2 separate regions of the Homo sapiens genome follow, and region 1 is linked to region 2. The links are contacts of gene promoters, found by promoter capture Hi-C in human tissues and cell types (Jung and others, 2019). All regions are on one chromosome and are shown on one strand. Each heading gives the region's core, a stretch centred on a gene start or on the middle of the fragment in contact. The rest is flanking DNA. Distances are from core to core; before and after follow the strand shown.

Region 1 (6,620 bases), core at 1,411-3,910, 160 kb before region 2:
TTAGCACTCAGAAGATTTATTCAGTTATAATGTATATGAAATGATGAAACCTTTATTTTTAGGACATTGGCTATAAAACAGCATAAATTAAAGCTGAGAATATTACAAAGGAAATATTGACAAGACTTATTGATTGATTAGGGGCCTGAAGGAAGGTGGTAGAGAAGAGGGAAGAGACTAGAATAACTTTGAGGTTACTTGTTTGGGGACTAGTAGGATAGTGTGCCATTGACTAATCAATTCAATTAATGTTTGAAAGTACAAGGCAATATATTGATGTTAAATTCACAATGTGGTTTTAGGTCTCTAGAGGGAAATTAAGAACCCAAACCAGTATTTCACATCTGTACTCTTGAAAGCCCTTGTTTTTTCTATCGTAGAATCAGAGGAAGTTATTCATTAGTGGGTTTTAAAATTACACTAGGGATGGTTTTTGTCTGTAATGCCTAAATGAGTACTGTTTAATAGCATTTGAAAAAAAATACCCTGATGATGTCACCCCAAAATCATAGATAAGAAATTGCATTAACTTCTAAAGTAGCTGGAAGACAGTTTGGGGATAGAAGAGAGAGTCTGACAGAGCTGGAGTCAAATTAAAATAGTGTATGTGAGCCTAATAGAGATCGAAACAAAGTGATAGAATGGCAGAAAGCTTTTTTATTTTCTTTAAGGATTTTCTGTTTTCCTTTCTTTTGATTATTGATTGTTGTAAAGCTTCAAAGAACAGAGACATGTAAGGAGGAGGACTTAAGCCTCACTCACTAGCCCAGACATGTGCATGCTTTTTCTGTAAAAGGCCAGATAGTTCTTTAGGCCTTGCAGTACACATGGTCTTTTTCACAACTGGTCAACTCAGTGTAGTATGGTGAGTTGAAAACAGCCATGGATAACACTTAAACAAATGGGCCTAGTTGTGCTCTTATAGAACTTACTAACCAAAAAATGTTGGCAGGCTAGATTTGGCACACAGGCCTTAATTTGCTGACCCCTGTTCTAGATTATTGGCAATTAAAAGAAAGTGTATTTTCTTTTATATGTTCCCCAAGCTCATATTGTTCATAATATTCCTCAGGTTTATTTTTCCTCTTAATGTATATTGTGGACATTATTTTGTCAATTTGGAACAATCTACTTATATGATTGTATATTTTGATTCTTTAAGATTCTCACTTTCATAAATAGTGTTGTAGTGAAATTAATTGATTCATGAGGAATATTTTCCACATGTTTTTCTGCATTGTGGGAACATGTTCATATAGCGCATTATTAAGACTGCTGGCCAGGCGCGGTGGCTCACGCCTGTAATCCCAGCACCCTGGAAGGCCAAAGCAAGTGGATCACTTTAGGTCAGGAATTCAAGACCAGCCTGGCCAACATGGTGAAACCCCACCTCTACTAAAAATACAAAAATTAGCCGGGGGTGGTGACTCATGTACCTGTAATTCCAGCTACTTGGGAGGCTGAGACATGATAATCACTTGTACCCAGGGAGCGGAGGTTGCAGTGAGCTGAGATCCTGTCACTGTACTCTAGCCTGGGCAACAGAGTGAGACTCTATCTCCAAAAAAATAAAAACAATTTTTGTGACAATTGCTTTGGATCCAAGTTTATGTTTGCTCTTTTTTTGTTTTTGTTTTGTTTTTTGTTTTGAGACAGGTTCTTACTTTGTCGCCCTGGCTGCAGTGCAGTGATGCCATCATGGTTCACTGTAGCCTCTACCTCCTGGGCTTAGGTGATTCTCCTGCCTTGGCCTTTTGAGTAGCTGAGACTACAGATGTGTACCACCATGCTCAGCTAATTTTGTTGTTTTTGGTGTTTTTTTGTAGAGAAGAAGTCTCTTTATTTTACCCAGGCTTGTCTCAAACTCCTGGGGCTCAAGGAGTCTCTTTTCTACGTGCTGGGATTGTAGGCATGAGCCACTGTACCTGGCCTTATTTATATTTTAAATGAAAACATTGCTACAAAGTGAGGCAAGTGCCCTGTGGAATGGGAGTAAGTTCATGTCATTGTTGATGACTGCTAGGTGTAACTTTTGTAGGTGGGCATTTTCTAGTGGCAGTTTAGCCACTTTTGTTATATAAATTTAAAAAAATAATCCTTGCAGGCCATGTATGTTCATGCCCATAATTTCAGCACTTTGGGAAGCTAAGGCAGGAGGATCACTTGAGCTCAGGAGTTTGAGACCAATATAGGCAACATAGTGAGACCCTGTCTCTACAACACCACCAAAATAACTTACAGGGTACGATGGCACATGTATATAGTCCCAGCTACTCAGCAGGCTGAGGTAGGCAGATCACTTGAGCTTGGGAGGTTGAGGTTTCTGTGAGCCATAATTGCACCACTGCACTCCAGCCTGGGTGACAGAGCGAGACTCTGTCCCTAAAAAAAAAAAATAATAATAATAATAATAATGATAATAATAATAATTCTATCCCTGCCCGCTCTATGTTCTCAACTCCTATTAAAGAAGGAAGTTTAGAAGACCTATACATATCAAAAATGTTCCAGATTACATAAAGTGAATCATTCTGTTGATATGTTTATAAGTAAATGGTGTTATAAAAGCGCTAATCAGAATGGGTCGTTTGTTTATACATCTAAGACATTTTATTAAAATATTTAGAACTCCGTGGCCATTATCAGTGTTCCGTGTGAGTCCTCATATGGAGAGGTAGCACTGAAGGTTACCATTTCTTAATCTCTTAACTTCTAATACCATAGTTTTGTTTTTAAAAATTTTTATCTTTATACAAGGCAATTCATACATTTTATATTTTTTGTGTGCTTTTGCTCAATATTGTTAGTGAAATTCATATTGTTAGTGAAATTCATATTGTTATGCATAATATTGATTCTTTTTTTTCCTACTTAGCATTTTACTTTATGAAAGTCCAACATTTTAAAAATTAGTTTTATTTTTAATGGACATTTGGGTAGTTGCTAGTGTTTGGCTATTGTAAATAATTGCCATGAACATTTTTATTAATCGATTTTGTGATTATAAGAGTCCCTGTTACTTCACATCTTTGATATAACTTGGTGATGCCAGCCTTTTAAACATATATAGCCATTCTGTGGAGTATAGTATATCTTATGGTTTTAAGTTTTATTTCCTTGATGACTAGTAATCCTGAACAACTTTTCATAATCTTATTCACCATTTGGAAATCTTCTTTTGTGAAGTGCTTGTGTACTTTTCCCATTTTAAAAATTGTGATCATTTTCTTTTATTTGTAAGAGGCTTTTTAATATATTTAAGATAGCAGTTCCTCGTTGGTTGTAATTTTTCCAAGTATATTCTCTCTCTCTGAAGTTTGGCTTTTAATTCTCTTAGTGGTGGCTTTCATAAGCACAAGTCTTTAAATTTTGATGTAGTTCATTTTGTCACTATTTTTCTTATGTTTTGTGTATTTTTGTTTGGTGCAGTAAGTCTTTACATCGACCCAGTCAGGAAGATGCTCTCTTATGTAATCTTCTAGAAACTTTTTAAACTTCCTGAAATCTTTAGGTCTTGTCTAGGATTCATTTGGAATTGGTTTGTTTGTATGGTTTGAGGTAGAAGTCAGGGTTAATTTGTCCATATGAGCATCAGTTGATTGATCTAAGACCAGTTTTTGGAAAAGACCATCTTACTTATAAGTCTTTTAATATCATTATCATTATTATCATCTCTCTTCCCCTCTTTAAGAATGTCTCATGTATTCTTGTTTGTTTACATTTTCTATAGATTTTAGAATTAAATTTGAACTCATCAGATTATGCAGAAAGACCTGCTAGGATTTTGATTGGACTGTATCTATAAATAGCTTTGTGGAGAATTGATATCTTTAATACAAGCCTTTCCCTTTCATGAACATGGTATACTTTTTTCTTTAAGTTTTAACTTTTTTTTTTTTTTTTACCATTCTTTCTGTTTGACATGCAGAATTCTAGCACATTTTTGTTTCTTTTTCCTACATATTTTGATGGTTTTGAATGCTTTTCAAAATAGTATTTAAAAACCATTTTTACTTTGTTAGTAACCTATACATATAATCTAGTTGATTTTTGTGTATTTGCCTTAAATCCAGTGACCCTCCTAAATTCAATTATTACTTTTAATTGTTTACATTTTTCTTTTGGATTTTTTCAGTATTTCAAATAACTAACTGTTAACTTTATCTTCTAAAGTGTATTTTTTATTTTCTATTTAATTTCTGTTCTTATCCTTATTTAACTTTCAGTGTTCACTGGCTGTTCTTTTTCTGATTTCTTCAGTTCAATACTTGCATAATTTATTTTGACAATTTTTTTCTTCTTTAGTGTTTTTATTCAGTGTATCAATTTCCCTCTAAGCATTGGTTTAAGGTTTATCTAAATCCACAGATTTTGGCACATTGTTTTTACTATGTTTTACTGCAAACGTTTCCTAATTTCCATTATGATGTATTCTTTTATGTGTGCGTTTTTTTCAGAGGTGCATTCTTTAATTTTTAGACATGAAATGATATTACTTAGCGACTGCTGTGTTAACAATATTATCACAACTTAGCCTTAAAGAAACATACATTTGTTATCTCAATTTTTCTTGGTCAGGAATCCTAGGCATGGCTTAGCTGGGCCTCTCCTTCAGGTTCACTTACAAGGCTGCAATTGAGGTGCTGGCCAGAGTTGCAGTCTTATTTGATGTTTGACTAGGAAAGGATCTGCTTCCATGATCATGTGATTGTTGGCAGGATTCACTTCCTTTTGAGTCGTTAGACTGAGAGTCTGAATTCTTTGCGGGCTGTTGTCTGGGGCTCTACTCAGCTCCTTGCCATGGAGGCCTTTACACAGGGCAGCTCATAACATGACAGCTTTCTTTAGCTAAGCCATTAAGGGAGAGCGTCAATAGAGTCTGCTAGCAAGATGCAAGTTACCATCTTATTTAATGTAATTATTGAAGTGTTATTCCTTCATTGTTGCCATATTTTCTTGCTTCGAGGCAAGCCCCATCTCCTTCTTACACTCTAAAGGGGAAGATTACATAATGCTGTGGATACCAGGAGGTTAGGAAAGTCAGTGGTCAGCTTAGAGCTTCTTGCAGAGTGATCTGTATCCTGTTATTTCTAGTTTAATTGAAATGTATCAAAGAACATACTGAGTATGATTCCATCATTTGAAATTCACTGTAAATTGCTTTGTGACCCCGCATTTTGCCTGTTTTTTTTAATATGTTCCATGTTTACCTGAAAATAATATTTATTATTCACTTACTGGGTATAATGTTCTCGATATGTCAGTCAGGTCAGGTTAAAAAATATTCTATAGCTTTATATATTCTATATCTGGTAGTAGGCCATATTCTTAAGAGCATACAAATTTAGAATCTCAAAATACTAAATTTCTGTATCTCTAGTTCATTTATCCTTTTATTAATTTAACAGGTTTATTTTATTTCTGTTTGCTTCTCATACTAAAAAAAGTTTATTACCTTTTAGCTTTTAAAAATTGTTCATGTTTTCTGAAATTATACTTTTCAATCTTTGTTTAACCTTATATTGAAATTGTGTCACTTACAAGCATCATATGCCTTAAAAAATTGATTTGACAATAATTTTACTACTAAATGTTTACTTTCTATGTATTTCTGATATGTTTAGGTTAAAATTTATCATCTTATTATTTATGTCCTTTATATTTGCTCCACATCTTGTGTTTCTTTTTTTTTTCCTTCTTCTGAGCTAAGTATTTGTTGCTTAATTTTTTTCCCATTGGCTTGTTGGTTATATATTATTTTAAATAACTTTAGTGGTTACCCAGAGATTGTAGTATGAATATTATAATTAACATCTTACATAAACTGATTCTTTTGCCAATTGATGTATGACACAAGAAACTTATAACACTAATTCAGTTGGTTTCTCTTGCCTTGTATGCTGTGGTTATATATTTTAGATTGCAGTATTTTTTAATTCTAGAAGTTACATAATTATTGTAAACATTCAGTATACTTTTAGATTTACCCACGTTTGTCATTTTCATTGCTCCAATTGTTTTCCTTGACTTGTATCAATCTTATATTATTTTTCATCCTTGTGAAGTATGTTGGTTGGCTGGTGACAAATTCTCACTATTTTATTTGTCATGGAATGTTCTTATTTTGCTTTTGATGATGAGGAAAAGTTTTCCTCTACCCTCTTAGGTTTGTTGTTTGGGGACCTGTGAATTAAACAGACAAACACAGCTTAGCAAGAAAAAAGACCTATTTTTAGTCATAAGTCTGTCAGAATTCGGCCGGCTGCTGTGTCTCACACCTGAAATCCCAGCACTTTGGGAGGCCAAGGCGGGCGGATCACCTGAGGTCAGGAGTTCAAGACCACCCTGGCTAACATGGTGAAACCCCGTCTCTACTAAAAATACAAAAATTAGCCTGGCATGATTGTGAATACTTGTAATCCCAGCTACTCAGGAGGTTGAGGCAGGAGAATCGCTTGAACCCAGGAGGCAGAGGTTGCAGTGACCCGAGATTGTGCCATTATACCCAGCCTGGGCGACAGAGCGAAACTTCGTCTCAGAAAAAAAAAAAAAAAAAAAAAAAAGATTCAGAGAAAAATGTGACTTGAGGAGGGGGTTAGAATTTGGGGTTATATACATAC
Region 2 (6,802 bases), core at 1,103-3,602:
AACCAAAAGCAAAACGAAATGGGGGGGGGGATGGGGTGGAGAGAAAAAGGATAGGGGGAAAGAAGGAAAAGGGGGGGGAACTACTATACATTGATTTGAAAATGTACCTTGGGTTTCATTTTGTGGTGGCGGAGCCCGATTGCTTCTTTTGTGTGACCTTTTAAATTCACATTGTTTGGAAGAAAACGATCACTTTTGTGCAAGAATGTGATTTGTTTTGGTTGGGTTGCTCTCTTTTTGTTTGCTTCTTAATTAATGAAGGTCTTCTGCCGGATTCCTATTTCAGGTGACTTACATAAAAGTTTGTGTCCAGAGTTTCTGCTGTTTATAGCAGAGTTGTGTGTCTGAGAGAGCACGCCCGTTTGTGTCGCTTTTCAAGCAGTCCCCAGCACCCTATAGTTTGTCCAGGCTTTTGGGATTGGTGAGAATTTCCCTGGCCAACCTCCAGGTCTGCTTGGCAGCGCTCTCCAGGGCCGAATGGGGCTTGCCCTGAAAGAGGTCGAGGTTGGGCAGAAAGTAGTGAGGGCAGCGGCGGCACTGCAGGCAGGAGATGAGCTGCAGCAGGATGCCGTTGAGCCGGTCGCCCAGGCACGACTCGTCCCAGTCCGTTTCTCGTGGGTGTTTCTCGCACTCGTACAGCAGCAGCGTCTTCATGTGGTAGTTGTTGAGCGGCTGGCCGGGTAGCTCCAGGTGGCGGTCCCGCAGAGTCTTCAGCACTGAGAGGCACTTGTTTCGGCAGCCGCCCATCAGCAGGCGGTTCTCCGCCTCCCCGAACTGTAGCACCCAGGCGTCGCTCTCTGCCGAGCTCTGCTTGCCGGTCAGCGAGTAGCACTCCTTCGAGAGCAAGTTGAACCCTTCGGCCTTGACCTCGGCCACCCGATTGGGGCCGGGCCAAGGGATGTGGGGCATAGGCCACTGTGCCGCGCTGCGAGGCCAGATCCCGGTGCACTTGAACGCCGGAGTGATTTGCACCACATAGCGCTCCCTGATGCGCAACTTGACCTCGCTGGTGTCCGCGATCATCTTGACCACATCCCGATAGCTGCACTTGTCCACCGCCTGGGCCACCAGCGTCTGGAAACGCGAGCGGATCTTACGCGCTGAGAGATAGCCCGACGCCGTGATGAACTCGACCCAGAGAGACATGCTCCGCTTCCGCCCATCGCTCAGTTTGAGCACTGCGCAGCCGGGCAGCGAGCCGTCGTCCACGAAGTTGAAGACGCCCATCTGGTTTAGGTAGAGCACCACCTCAAATTCGGTGGGCGAAATGACCTCGAGCCCCTCGTAGCGGGCATCGATCTCGCTCAAGGAGCTGATGAAGCGAGGCTCCTGCACCTCCACTTCCTTGAGCACGTCCGAGACCACCTTACAGACCTCTCGGATGGTTTTGGCGATGGCCGCCTTGCGCGCCTGACAGCGCTCAGTGTAGTACTTATTGAGCTGGTAAACCAGCTTGGCCTGAGCGGCGATCATGTTGGGGCACAGGTCCGGGCTATACACCGGCGTCTCGCAATACGTTGAGGGATCCAAGGCTCACGCACTGGTGGTGGCCCAGCGGCTTTCGAAAGAGGCGGTGCGCTCCCCGTTAAGCCCTACTTTCACTCTCGTTTTCCACCTGGGCTGACCGGCTGATACCGTAGCCGGCTTGTTTTTTCCTTTTCCCTCTTTCGAAACCTCTTTTCTTCTGCAGAAGAATTAGGGGAGAAAAGGTGATTTTCTAAAAAGAAAAGTACCTCTTGGAACCTTTTTGCTTTCTCTTGATATGTAAAGATGACCGTGTGCGAGAGAAGCGGGGTGGGCGTGAGGAAGGAGAAGGAGAGGGAAAAAACTCAGGATACCAAAAGGTTAGGCTTAGATGTCTGCAGCCGAGATTGTCCAGAAATCTGGAAATGAGGTTTTTTAAGTGCCAAAGTAAATTTAAAAATAAAAGCGAAACATTCAGTGGTTCATTCTTAAACTTCTCTTCCACGCTGATAGGACTTCTTCGCTCAGTGTAGGTGAGTGCCTTCTTCCTCACCCTCCCCCAAATGGAAGGTGCAGGAGGTAATTAATGTCCAGAGAGCTGCGAAGTACAACTCAGTCCGCCGTGCACTTGGAGGTTTGCTGACGCCCCACAGTCTCAGCGTGTTGGTCTCGTCTCTTCTCGGGGGGTCGTGTTATCGCAGTTTTCCTCTTTTCCTACTGGAGGCGTTGTTTGGACTGGGTTTGTTTGTTTGTAGTGGGTTCTCCTTGTGTTTCTTTAGGTGCAAACCGCTGGAAGTTGTTTGATAATCATTTCTGCTTCGTAATTTATACTTTTGGCCCTCACAAAATCCGTTTTAGTGTGACGAAGTCGTTGCTTGCGTTGCATCTGGGGTGTAGTTATAACGATTCAGGGTTTTCCTTCTTCTCCTCTAGCTTGCTTTTACAGATTCCACTTTCTGAGTCGTCTCTCCCCCTCCTCTCCCCTCCGACCTCTTTCTCGCCCCGCTCTCCCCCTGCTTCTCTCCCCCGCCCCCCTTCCTCGTGCTCGCTCTCTCTTCTTTCCTCTAACTCTCTCTGTCTCTCTCTCTCCCTCTCTCTTTCTTTCTCTCTCTCCCTCGCTGTTTCCTGGAGTTATTTAGTTTATGAATGGTCCCAGGGCCATCATGAGGGGGTGGAGCTTCAGTTCCTACAATCGCTATCCGAGCTGTCAGTGCTTTAGCCAATCCGAGAGAGAAGACAGGCACGCTTGGCGAACGGTAGCAGCCACCACTGCACTTGATAAAGAAACAGGGTAAAGAGAGAAGTAAGAAAATAGGAGGAGATAATGGGAGTCAAATGCTTGCACACATTTTACAGCCGTTCCTCTTTATCCTCCTCTCTTATCAGTAGCAAAGAAGAAAAAGAGTTTATATAGAAGGGACTCTCCTGGAGATGGCTGGAATAACGCGAGGGAGAGTAGCAATGGTTCAGAAAGGTTCACTTTTTTTTTTTTTAAATGATTCTATCAACATTGTGTAGTAGAAGGTGCAAACTGTAACAAAATTACTTTGGCTTGAAGGCAAATGGGAAGCGAAAGGGGAATCTGGGAAAGGACCTAATTTTTCCAGGTTTTTTCCTCCTTTAAAGTCATCCTCCTTTCTCTTCCCCTCCCCTCCCATTGTTGCCAAGAATCAGAGCAGTTGCTGTATATGTGCACCAGTGAGGGTTGGAGTGGATATAAGGTGAGGGTTTATAAATCTCTTTTTAGTAATTTCGATATGCTGTTTAAAAACAGGGCAGGGCAAAAACTAGTCCAAGCACCTTGTTTGATAATTATTTCATAATTAAGATTCACATGTATTTAATACCATTATTTTATCGTTACAAGAATTAACTAGTTACGAGAGAGAAAATATCTAAGTTGTGAGAAATGGTGCAAACTTACATGTCGTAGAACTTAGTAGGATATACTTTTAAAATAAGCTACTAAAATTGCTTCAAACTTAATGAAAAACAAGGCAAGTAAATGTAAACCTAAAGTTTTCTTAAAATCTTACTGTTGTAAATCTAATTGTGAATGTATTCTTAGGGGGTACAGGTACAGAGTTTCATTTGTAAAATGATTTTATTTTCATAATTGACTCTTGCTTTTAAAAGACTTCACTGCCACAAAAATCTATAACTATCCTGTTATTGATTACACAGATGGCTTCACTCCTCCCTAGGCATTTCAATGAAAGGCATGCATGTGCTTTTAGTATATGTATTATCCTAAACGAGTTGTACCCACTGTAGCCTTTCCATACTTTTGGGTGAAAAAAAAAGCTAGAACATTGTTTCTGATTTGCTTGATACTGAGGGTTTATGTATGAACCTAAGATGTCTGGATTCTGAATCTTTTTAACGTATTTCAGGTAGATGTGATTATTTTTAGTTTGATTTGGGAGGTTATATTCCAGCCCTGGGTTATGCGATAAAAATAAAAATCTATGCGTCCATTTGGGTGAAGACTTCGTTTTAGAAACCTGGTAGTTCGGCTTTTTCAAAACCCCTTGGGAGGGCTTGACTTACCCTCTTAAAGTCCGGCCGGGTGAACCTGAATTGAATTGCATAGGGAAGTTAATTTCTTTCTATCTACTTGGTATCAGACAATTGGGCCTCTTGGTTCTTTCTTACATACCTGGTGCGGACCACAGGCAGTTTGTCACCCTTCCTCTCTCGTTGCCATAAGTCCCTTTCTAAGGAATATTTGCTTAAAAAAAAACTATCTCGGATTTGTTGCTTAGGGTTTGTCTTCCCGCGATTAGGAAGAAGAGTCAGAATTAAGTGTCCGCGCGACTCTTGGACTCCAGAGCTTTAGTTAACTTCTCTGGAGTGGCAGAGACTTGGGCTGCTTGACCTCCAGCCTTCTCCGGGGAGGCCGCGTGCGTCCCGGAACGCCTCGCCGCCTAAGGATCTAGGGGACCTCGCGCCCTCGGAGTTCGCGCCTGTGGGAGCCCGGCTCTAACCCGGGAGGCCTTGCCGGCGCTCTGGGAACTGCCTGGGCCGGAGGGCACTGCGCTGCCGGGAGAGCGCGACTGGCCGGGAGGGGCTCCGTGGTTGCTTCTCCGGGGGCAGTTACTGGGCGGAGACTGGTGGCGGGGATAGAGGGTGCGGAGCTTTCCCGCCCCACTCTCGAGGTGGTCGCTTCGTCGTTGCGTCTGGTTCGCGAATGGCCCGGCCCGCGACGCTCCCGAGAGTGAGTGTTTGCAAACAGCCTCAGGGGTGGCGGAGTTGGTTCGCATGGCTCCGCCGCCGCGCCGCAAGTCCTGCGCCTTCTCCTCTTCTCTCGGGTGGGGCGTCCCAGGCCGAGCGGACCTTCGCGCCACCACTCGCCGGACACTCCGCTGCACCTCCACTGGCGGCTCTGTCAAGCTCGGCTAAGTTTTCTCGCATCCTTGCCCCTACGCTTCTCCACTTTTACATACAGAGGGAAGGATGATAAAACGTTACAAATGTTTTGATTTAAAAACAATTCATTACCAATTTACCCTGTCTTAGGTAGATGCTCTAGTAAATAATAAATCAGTTAAACAAAGGCGACTTTAATTTATGGCCGTGGTACTAATTAGAAACATCATTCGAGCAATAAACTTAAACACTTCCAGCAAATAATGCTCCCTCTTGCTGGTTCTCTTTCTCCCCCCTCCCCCACCCCAACTCACTCTGGCTGCCTCTGCTCTAAGAGCAGCTTCAGCTGCGCCTTTGCGGTCCTCTCTTCCTCTGGTTGAATAATTGAAGGGGGAAACGGTATCCGAGGAGGCTGTAATTGAAGAGCCCCTGTCACCTCTGCTTTTATGTATGTTAGTATAGAAGTCCATCAGCAGCTCCTTGATGGTGTATTAAAACGAACTGGCAGCTCCTTCTGCAGGAGATACTATATTCTATTAAAGGAGACCAAGTGAGAGAAAGAAACTCTAGAGGCTAAAAGCCACTTCAAGTCTTCAGACCGATTCATCTGTATTCTCTTGTTATAATCCGTCTCATCATACTTGAGTTAATGAGGCAAAGGAGGGGGTGCGAAATCTGATGGTCCTTGACAAATTCATTAGGGAGGCTGCAGGACATTTTATTTGACTGTTAAACATCTTGTTTGTTTGGCTTAGGCAGTGCCAACATTGGCATGCTTCAGCCCAGAGCTGTGGTGCTGGGCTAGCTGCAGGACATTCCTAAAAAGGGAAGGAGGACATTCAGGGTGTGATCTGAATTTTTTGTTTTGGATATCAGGTAGTCCGTAACCTTCAGACTTCTCTAGGCTTTACCTCTTGCATCATTACATTAGGAACATAAAGAATGTAGGTGATAGTACTGAAGTGGGCATGTTTTTAGTTACTATAAACTAAAATATGAGGATGTTTAAAACTTTAGTCTGAAAATTTCCCAGTTTCTTCAAAAAATTGAGTCAGGTTGTAGTAATTACGGTACTAGTTTTATAGCAATGTGAATGTTTAAGGTCCAGTCAAATAACCAGATTACTCATTACATCCTATTTTTACTTATCATGGTTAAATAAACTTTTAATTATTAATGGAATTTCCTATTTCACCGAAACCTTTATGAGTACAGAAACTTGGAAATAAAAAATTAACTATTTATACAAATATATTTTCAAAAAAAATTGGCATATTTTAAGGAAATTTTTATAATTAAAATTAGAAGCAAAACTGAATACTTGGTGTTAAAATAAGGTGATGAGTTGACAGAGTACTTTAAAAAGTGAAAATATTTCTAATTGAAGAATAATGGGTAATTAAGCTAGAATGCTAACCTTACAATGTTTTATTCTAAGATAATAATACAGTATTAGATTTATCAACATGTCCTTGAAAAGTAGTAAATAATCCAATTGTGATACTTTCTTGCATAGAGAATTCAGTTGTATTTTTCCTTCAGCATTGACTGAGCTTGAGCTTAAGTGCTTTGAGAAAGAATCCTGTCTTCCATTTATAGGAAAACAGTATGGAAGTAAAAAAACCTAATGCCCTTTGCCTGTCATTTTTATACATTCCTGCACTGCTGATGAAGCTTGAACGGCTGCAGGGAATGTATGGATTTGAAAAGAAATGATGCAGTAGTTCATGTTGTGTTTCTCAGGAGCCAAACCAAACTAATGGCTGAAGTCAGTGCTTCTGTAATCTGACAGTTATAATCCTGTTTATGTTTCCAGAGAATACAAAATTCTTAAACTGTTTTATTTTTTGCTGATCTTTACTTAAAAATGTATTTACTGAGTTAACGTCAGTGCATTTGTTACTTTATCATGTTAACGAGACTTAAAAGGTATCTATTATTTTATTATCTGTAAAAATAATATATTGTA

Evidence for each region. Contacts are between HindIII fragments. The study calls those that stand out against the background at their distance.
Region 1: a contact is called between a fragment that was not itself captured here and the fragment with the promoter of MAB21L2 in region 2, in 1 of the 25 tissues and cell types used here (lymphoblastoid cells).

The regions. Positions count from the first base shown.
Region 1 is chr4:150,737,927-150,744,546 of GRCh38, reverse strand. The region is part of intron 35 of LRBA (LPS responsive beige-like anchor protein); the gene reads left to right. Among named protein-coding and RNA genes, the nearest start is that of MAB21L2, 160 kb to the right of the region's middle. The HindIII fragment of the contact is 3,953 bases long and covers 684-4,636 here.
Region 2 is chr4:150,577,701-150,584,502 of GRCh38, reverse strand. It overlaps MAB21L2 (mab-21 like 2), which reads right to left and starts at 2,352. Exons shown (of 1, transcript NM_006439.5): 1 at 1-2,352. The coding sequence starts at 1,473. The coding sequence ends at 394. The region is part of intron 40 of LRBA (LPS responsive beige-like anchor protein); the gene reads left to right. LRBA-AS1 (LRBA antisense RNA 1) reads right to left here and starts at 5,414. Exons shown (of 2, transcript NR_149035.1): 1 at 5,148-5,414; 2 at 3,269-4,899. The HindIII fragment of the contact is 7,167 bases long and covers 1-6,692 here.